Regions from separate parts of the Homo sapiens genome. Here region 2 is linked to region 1. Evidence: promoter capture Hi-C in 16 types of primary human blood cells and fetal thymus (Javierre and others, 2016). All regions are on one chromosome and are shown on one strand. The core of a region is centred on a gene start or on the middle of the fragment in contact, and the rest is flanking DNA. Distances in the headings are between cores, read along the strand shown.

Evidence for each region. The method cuts DNA at HindIII sites, captures the fragments that hold promoters and counts their contacts. A CHiCAGO score of 5 or more calls a contact.
Region 2: a contact is called between the fragment with the promoter of MTCH2 here and the fragment with the promoter of CRY2 in region 1, in 1 of 17 cell types (monocytes). The highest score is 5.6, in monocytes.

Annotation. Positions count from the first base shown.
Region 1 is chr11:45,844,932-45,849,044 of GRCh38, forward strand. CRY2 (cryptochrome circadian regulator 2) reads left to right here and starts at 2,544. Exons shown (of 12, transcript NM_021117.5): 1 at 2,544-2,774. The coding sequence starts at 2,560. RefSeq lists enhancers at 1,995-2,104, 2,155-2,204, 2,565-2,804, 2,735-3,256 and a silencer at 3,205-3,314. The HindIII fragment of the contact is 7,201 bases long and covers 1-4,113 here.
Region 2 is chr11:47,640,792-47,645,139 of GRCh38, forward strand. MTCH2 (mitochondrial carrier 2) reads right to left here and starts at 1,768. Exons shown (of 13, transcript NM_014342.4): 1 at 1,588-1,768. The coding sequence starts at 1,674. RefSeq lists a silencer at 1,689-1,958. The HindIII fragment of the contact is 6,217 bases long and covers 1-4,304 here.

The DNA.
Region 1 (4,113 bases), core at 1,294-3,793:
AAAAAAAAAAAAACAAACAAAAAAAAAAAAAAAAACACAACCCAGGGAGCACTGAACCTCTGCTTTGATTAAAGTTTTAAAACTTAAATGTTTGTGGACAAAGTCTAGAAGGCAACATGAAGATAAGAAATAATTGATTTGTTAGGTTTTGGGAACTGAGGTTGATTACTTGTTTTTTCATTATTGGCAAAATTTCAAGGACTTTAAAAAAATAAGTAAAATATTTTATGTAGTCAGCAACTTATGGAGCCCACATTACATGTAAGACCCAGGGCTGAGCATTACAAGGAAGACAAAACCAGACACAGGTCCTGCTGTTCAGAATAACAGTAGCTGACACAGTACAAATGCTTACTATATCCTAAGTGCTATTATCACCCTATTGCAAAGATTAAGAAAGTGAGGAACAGAGAGGTTAACTAGCTTATCCAAGGTCACAGAGAATAAAAGCAGAACTAGAATTTGAACTCAGCAACTCCAATGTGCAAAGCCTCAGGTTTAACCATTACATCACACTGCCTCTCATGATAGCTTAATAAGAGAGCGAGGGGAGGGGAGGGAAGTGACTTTTGATCATTCAACAAATGTTTTTTGAGCACCTACTATATGTTAGGTACCAGAGTACCAGCTGAGAAGACACTGAAAAGTAAGACAAGCACAGTCCCTGCCTCACAGGGTTCACGGAATACAGATATAGCATTATGGGAATTTAGAGGAGAAAAAGGGAAGAGGACCCATCTCTGAGGTTAAGGGAGAACCACCTCCTTACACTCTGTTTCATTCCTAGCAAAGCACCAACCTTGTGGAGAGAAGAGGGCATAGGAGAGGGGGAACACAAAACCTTAAAATAAAAGTAATGAAAGATTGCATCGATTTATTCAGCAAGAATTTGGAAAGGAAATTCAAAAATAAGGAAAGGGTCAGGTAAGCGGACTAGGATAAACCTTTAAGAGCCTGCCAATATGAGACTCTAGTTCAATTTTTACTCAAATAATCCTTGAGCGTTAGGTGCCAAGCCCTGAGCTAGACTTCAGACATACAACTGTATGTAAATAAGCCACAGCCCCTGCTCTCCAGGAGTTTATACTCTAATGGGGCAGAAAGACTTTTAAGCAAGAAATTTCAGTATTGTGTGCCAAGACAAGTGACCAAAAAGAAGCACAGAATAAGATGGGGCACTATTCAGGTTGGGATCAGACAGCAAGAAGGTGACATCTATACTGAACAATGATACAGAGCAAACTGGAGTTAGAAACAAAGATGGAAGAGGGAGTGTGATCTAGACTGCTGGAACAGCTCGTGAAAAGCCCTGGAAATGACAGAGAATGCCTAGGATTGCAGTGACACTGGTTTAGAGAGTGGTGCCAATTAATGCCACTAAATTGCAGACTAAATTACTAAATGCTTTCATCACTCTGTCCCAGGTCCAGGAAGGGTTCCAAGCATGGGCTCAACCTAGGGTCAAGTTGAAACAGACTGTTTTCCACCTGATAACCCCAAAGCTGCAGCTTGACTAAGCCGTCTTAGCCCAAGAGGGTTCCACCTGGCGTCCCAGAAGAATGGGGACAGTGTCCTCCACATCTCTGAACCCTACCCGGAATCCAGTACAGTGCTTTGCACACACTGGATCTACTAAACAGACTAAAAGAAAATAAATTCATCTGATGGCATAATTACTATCTCAATTCAAGTCCCCCACATTCCCAGTCCTTACTCCCAAATCCTCTACTGCTGCATATTAGGGCACTCCTTCCCCGTCCTTAGACTCTGCCACTTGGAATTACCAAGGATCTTCGCACAAAGAGAAGTATAGCTTCGTGGATAAAAGCAGAAATTTCGAAATCAGAATAATCTGGGTGAAATCCTCTTAGCAGCTTTATGATATTGAATAAGTCACTCAACCTGCGGCACCCTCCGTTTTCTTCATCTGTGAAACGAAAACAACAGCAGCTTTTTCACTGGGGTTCGCTAAATGAATGTAACTGGGCTGAGTTGAGAATAGTAAATGAGACCGTCTACGTAAGGAGATGATCATGTCTCTTGCCATATAAAGTGCACTTAATAAATGGCAGCTGTAGTAGAATGATGTAGATGGTGATGGTGACGATGTTGGTGATAATAGGAAGGTCAGCTGTCAGTCTTGCAAGTCACTGGCTGTAGTCACAGCAACCCCTACCAGCCCAGGCAGCTTCTTCTAGAAGCAGGCCCTGAACAGGACGTGGGTAAGAGATCCGCTGTCCCTTGAGACTTGGCCTACTCCCGGCACTCCGCGGACAGCCCCAGCCTGCGGACAGCCCCAGCCTGCGTCACTTGTCCGCATGCCAGCTCCACCCGGGCGGACCCACACATGGTAGGAACGTGAGGGGGCGGGCCTGTTCCGGCGCCTCTGGGCCAATCGCCAGGTGGAAGGCACTCAGCCAATGGCAGAGGGGCTCTGGGGCCCTGTGGGCGGGGACTAAGGGTGGAGTTGCGGCGTCATAGGTCACTGGGCGGGCTATGGGCGGGGTCCACGTCGCCTACCGGGGCGGAGCGGGGGTGGCTGGAGCAGTCTGGACAGTCATGGCGGCGACTGTGGCGACGGCGGCAGCTGTGGCCCCGGCGCCAGCGCCCGGCACGGACAGCGCCTCTTCGGTGCACTGGTTCCGCAAAGGGCTGCGACTCCACGACAACCCGGCGTTGCTGGCGGCCGTGCGCGGGGCGCGCTGCGTGCGCTGCGTTTACATTCTCGACCCGTGGTTCGCGGCCTCCTCCTCAGTCGGGATCAACCGATGGAGGTGAGGGGACCCGGGGCTGGGTGGCGGGGACGCAGCCAGGACCCTGACCCTGGGGTGACCGGCGAACAGCACGATCCCCCCAACCCCGCCACGGCTGGAAGGCCAGAGGGGAGAAGCCGAGACCGGGGAAGTAATTCGTCATGGTCCTAACGCGCCGGTGGGCCAGGGTTCAGCCTCTGACAAAGCGCGTTCGCACTGTTACCCCTTTGAGCCTCACAACTGCCTGTGGAACGGAGATCATGATCCCCGTTGTACAGATGAGACCCTTGAGCCCTGGAGACCCAAAGTCGACCTGCCCAAGGACTTGTAGCCAGTGAGTGGCAGAACAGGGGCTCCTGGTCTAGGGCTCTTACGGTCTACTCAGGGAGGGGCGGAAGGGAGATAACGTAGTGTGAGGGCGGGACGGGTTTTTGCTCGCATTCTTCAAGAGCCCGTTGCTGGGCTCGGGGAGATCACTCCGAAGCCTCTGGCTCGTTTGAATCCGCCCTACCACCCATCCTGGCTACCCTGCACCCAGACCGTCCTGCCTCTAGGGGTGTCAAGTGACCCTGGCTTAGCATTAAATAAGGTCTTCTCCCCTATATTATAAATAAAGAAGCCAAAGGCGTCTTCAGGTGGAGTCGCTTTATGTTCAAAGCTCCAGAGAATCCAGGGGATTCTCCAAAATGTTTTAAGCCCTGCTCTGGAGCTTTGACCTCGATAGAAAAATTTAAAAGAATCCAAAGTGTCACCCCGTCATCCTCTTGTCATGATTTTAGAGGACAGTAGAGCCATTAGAGATGAGACTTTTATGAACTGTTGTGGTAAGGTTAGGGAGCAGGAAAGCCATGATATCAAGGGCCCCTCTGATGACCCCCCAGGAGATGGAGTCGACATGATCATGGAAAAAGATGAACAGGTCGTTAGTGTATTTTCACTGTAAACAGTATTCAAACTAAAGAGTTTTGAGACATAATGTACCCATCGCTCTTCAGAACACCTAGTGGCAGTCGCTCGGTTTGTTTGCATTGTTCTGGGGAATGTTTGCTTGTGGCCTTGTTGCATCGATGGACAGGGTTATTTCCAGGATACCGTGGCTCTCGGCACACCATTCTTTTCTCTCCAAGGTGTGTGCCCTGCTAAGAGAGTGAGTGCTGCTAGCAGTGGGCCTGTTCAGTGTCCCCTCCTGCCCAGAAGGAACAACTAAGGAGTCCTGTGGAGAGCCTGCCCACAGTTTTCAGGCTGCCTTATTGCTCTGTCTCTGCTCCAGTTTTCTACAGATAGGAGGTTGGGTTTGACAAGCATCATCAAATGACCATCCCTAGTGTGCACATTAAGCCAAGCCTCAGACTTTGCCCTG
Region 2 (4,348 bases), core at 518-3,017, 1.8 Mb after region 1:
TGTGAAATCAGAATTAAGAATATTCAAAGTTTTTGGGGCAAGAGCTCTGAACATCATTAGAAAACCCCGTCTCCCAGAGAAGTATTGAGTAGTGGGTTCTTTTTTGTTTTGTTTTGTTTTTTTGAGGCTGAGTTTTGCTCTGTTGCCCAGGCTGGAGTACAATGGCGCGATCTCGGCTCACTGCAACCTTCACCTCCCGGGTTCAAGCGATTCTCCTGCCTCAGCCTCCCGACTAGCTGGGATTACGTGCACGCACCACCACACCTGGCTATATTTTGTATTTTTAGTAGAGACGGGGTTTCACCATGTTGGTCAGACTGGTCTCAAACATCGACCTCGTGATCCGCTCACCTCGGCCTCCCAAAGTGCTGGGAAGGCGTGAGCGAACGCGCCCGGCCCCAAGGGTTCTTACTATATACTGCAACATGCTGTCACCTCCGATGCTATCTAGCCCCAAATGTGCCAATTCTGTTTTGGATGTTACAGTACATTCTAATCAGTCTTTGTTCTAAGTACAAAGAATTTATTTGCAATAGCCTTTAACATATGGAATCTGAATTCACACAGGTCTACTCAGCAAGAAATAATTTGGATTCCCAACAACTCAAGAATAAGAAATGGGGCCCTCTCTAGTGTCTTGCCTATTTTTTACAGAAAAGTAGACGGCGAGACAGGGGTTCTAAAAACTGTTCCATTCCTAGGCACAGTGCATGAGGTAATTATGTCAACTCTCAGTAAAAGCATAAAAAAAAGAATGACCTGCCCATTACAGGGATATAGCAAAGGAACTGGAAACACTAAGTCTATCACTTACTTGGCCTACCTGCATGTGAATATAAAATACCATGTAATAATTATTTGACAGTAGATTAGAAACTAACTCCCATGTTTAAACTCGCTAAAACTCAGCTTCACTAATTTCCAGCTCTGACAAATGTGATTTTCATTGTCAGGAGCCACATGGGCCGCTGCTGGAAAGCGCTCAATGCATCCTTCCGAAATCTGACAGAGCAACCCCTTCATTAACACTTCTGAATGAGCTCCTTGTGTTTCTCTCAGTATCTGGTGCGAAAACCTCGGAACAGAAAAGCAGTAGTAACAGTAGCATAAAAAGAAAAAAAAAAGGAATAAAAAATAAAATGTTGGTTCCCACCTAACTTCACATTTGTCTTCAACTGAGTATTTCGTGTTTTGCGTCTGAGATTTTGGGGGGAGTAGTGGTGAATGTGAATTTCGGAGGGGCGAGAGGGAGGGTTCGGAAGCCTTTGGTGGCGACCGGCCAGGATCCACCTCAGTGACGAAGAACCAAAGTTCAGAGGATCCGCCGGGCAGGGCAGGGCCGGGTGGCGGTTGGCTAAGGGAGGAGAGGGCCTCAACGCTGGGCGGCGAGGCGAGGGCTCGGCGAGGCCCCCAAGCGGGGCCGCGGGACTGAGGAAGCTGTCCCTGCGGGGAGGTAAAGGGCAGCGGAGGAGCAGCAGCATCTCGGGAGAATGAAAGGCCCGCAAGGCTGAGCCGATCCTCAGGCGCCCTGAGCAGCAGCGACCGAACGGGGCGCCGGGCGGGGTAGGGAGCGGCGACGCCTCATACCTGGATGAGCACTTTCACGTACATGAGCGGCTGGGACAGGATGGTGAGACCGGAGCCCAGGAGCACCTGACTGGCCGCGTCCGCCATGATGGCACCCGCGGGCGGACGGACAGACAGACGGAGCCACCAAGCGACCCGGTGAGCCGGTCCTAGGTCACGTGCCAGGGCCGCCGGTTTCACTGGCCCGCCCGCGGCGCGCGCGCACGCACGCAGCAGCACGCGCCTCTCCGCCCAGTCCCCGCCCCCCCGTCCCGCCCCGAGAAACGGCAGGCGCTCGCGAGGGGGCGCTGAGGTCGGGGCGGGGCTTAAGGGACAGAGGCGCATGCGTTCTGCCGGGGGCTCGCCCTTCACCAGGAATGACGGTTTCTCTTGCACATGCGCTTCCAGGCCGCAAGTGTCCGGAAACAGAAGAATGGGAGTGTCAGTGGGGGAGTGTGACCGTGACGGCAGAGGCAAGGTCAGAGGACTGAAAAGAAATTGAAAAGGATTCTTCATTATGCTTCATCTCTGCACTTGCCTTTTGGGCATCATCAACATAGGATTCAAAAGATACTCAGCATCAGAGCCGTAACAGTCTCGTGACTGACAAACTCTAAATAAGTATAGCAAATAATGAATCCGCTAGCGAGTGGCTTTTCATTCATTTATTCGTTTGATTAATGTTATCTTTTCAAAAAAACCTTCTCTGACCATTCTAAAATTACCTCCCCCTTTTCTTTTTCTTTCTTTTTTTTTTTTTTTTTGAGACGGAGTCTCGCTCTGTCACCCAGGCTGGAGTGCAGTGGCCCGATCTCAGCTCACTGCAACCTTCGCCTCCCAGGTTCAAGCAATGCTCCTGCCTCAGCCTCCCTAGTAGCTGGGATTACACGCACACGCCACCACGCCCGGCTAATTTTTGTCTATTTAGTAGAGACGGGGTTTCACGATGTTGGCCGGGCTGGTCTCAAACTCCTGACCTCGTGATTCACCCGCCTTGGCCTCCCAAAGTGCTGGGATTACAGGAGTGAGGAGCCATCGCGCCTGGCCACCTCCCTCTTATTTTCTCCCACATTGTGCCCCGTCGTAGCATTATCACTGAAATTATGTCTCCTCCACTGGAATGAAAGCTCCATGAGTTCAGGAACCGTGACAGCCTCTGTTCACGGTTGTGTTTTCAGTGCCCAGCACATACGAGGTGCTCAATAAATATTTATTGCACAAGTGAACAAATACTTCAGTGCCTACCAGTCTACAGGCTATCAGAGGCAAAAGTGAAAAAGGCATTGTCCCTGCTCCTTCAGCCCCAGCTCACGTGTTCTATCAAACAACATTTGGTGAATCTGAGCTTGGAGCAGAGTGAAGTACTGTAGGGGAAAGACTTGGATTTGGATCCTGGCTTTTCCACTGCATCCATTTGTCATTTTAGCTACTTTAATTTCCAGTTTTTGTATCTAAATCTAACACTACTGTGTATCTCTCAGGGTTATTATGAGCATTAAGTGAAATTATGCATAGGAAAGGGTTTTTTTTAAAAAACTTTATATTGAAATACAGATATTGGCTGGGCACGGTGGCTCACACCTGTAATCCCAACACTTTAGAAGGCTGAGGTGGGTGGATCACCTGAGGTCGGGAGTTCAAGACCAGCCTGACCGACATGGTGAAACCCCATCTGTACTAAAAGTACAAAAATTAGTTGGGTGTGATGGCGGGTGCCTGTAATCCCAGCTACTCGGGAGGCTGAGGCAGGAGAATCGCTTGAACTCGGGAGTTGGAGGTTGCAGTGAGCCAAGATTGCGCCATTGCACTCCAGCCTGGGTGACAGGGCGAGACTCAGTCTCAAAAGAATAAATAAATAAAAAATAAAGTTGTAAGAAACAAGTTGCTTCTAACTGAATCTAGAAACATAAAGCTGAGCCAGAGAGACTATTTAGCAGGGGATTCTTTTCTTTTTTTTTTTGAGACAGGGTCTCTCTTTGTCACCCAGGCTGGAGTGCAGTGGTGCAATCTCGGCTCACTGCAACCTCCACCTCCTGGGCTCAAGCGATCCTCCTACCTTAGTCTCCCAATTAGCTGGGACCACAGGTGTGCACCACCATGCCCAGCTATTTTTTTTGTATTTTTAGTAGAGATGGGGTCTCGCCATGTTGCCCCAGGCTGGTCTCAAACTCTTGAACTCAAGTGATCCACCTGCCTCCCAAAGTGCTGGGATTACAGGTGTGAGTCACCACACCTGGTTGGATTATTTATTCTTGGATTTGTGCATTGATGGTGCCAAATAATATTGCCTTGTCCCACTGATGCTAGTGAGCATGGGGAGGCACAGAGCCTCTTGCCAGGGGTGGGTGGTTGGGGGATTCAGTCTGCTCCACAATATTTTCCAATGGTGTGAGGCAGAAGCTGCTGATGAGGTTTTGGGAAGAATCTGCAGAGAATAGGTAACCGAAGTCAGCAGTATAGATAAGGGAAGAGGTGCTATGTACAGCTGCCTAGGCTGTGCACTGCATAACTCAGAGTGGGGCCAGTCACAAAGACTATGATCTGAATGGCATTCCCTGATACAGTTCAGTATGATGACCCTAAGATGGGTTATATTTGCTGACCCATATTGCAGTGGTGAGAGGAATAACGGAAGTCAAAAGGGGCAGAATTAACTGGGAAGGAAACAGAACTAGAACAGCATGTCACTGAAGTCAACAGAAAAGTTTGGAAAAAGAAAGGATAGTCAATATGTCAAAAGCTTCCAAGAGGTCAATAATGAAGCCCAGAAGCCGGGCGCGGT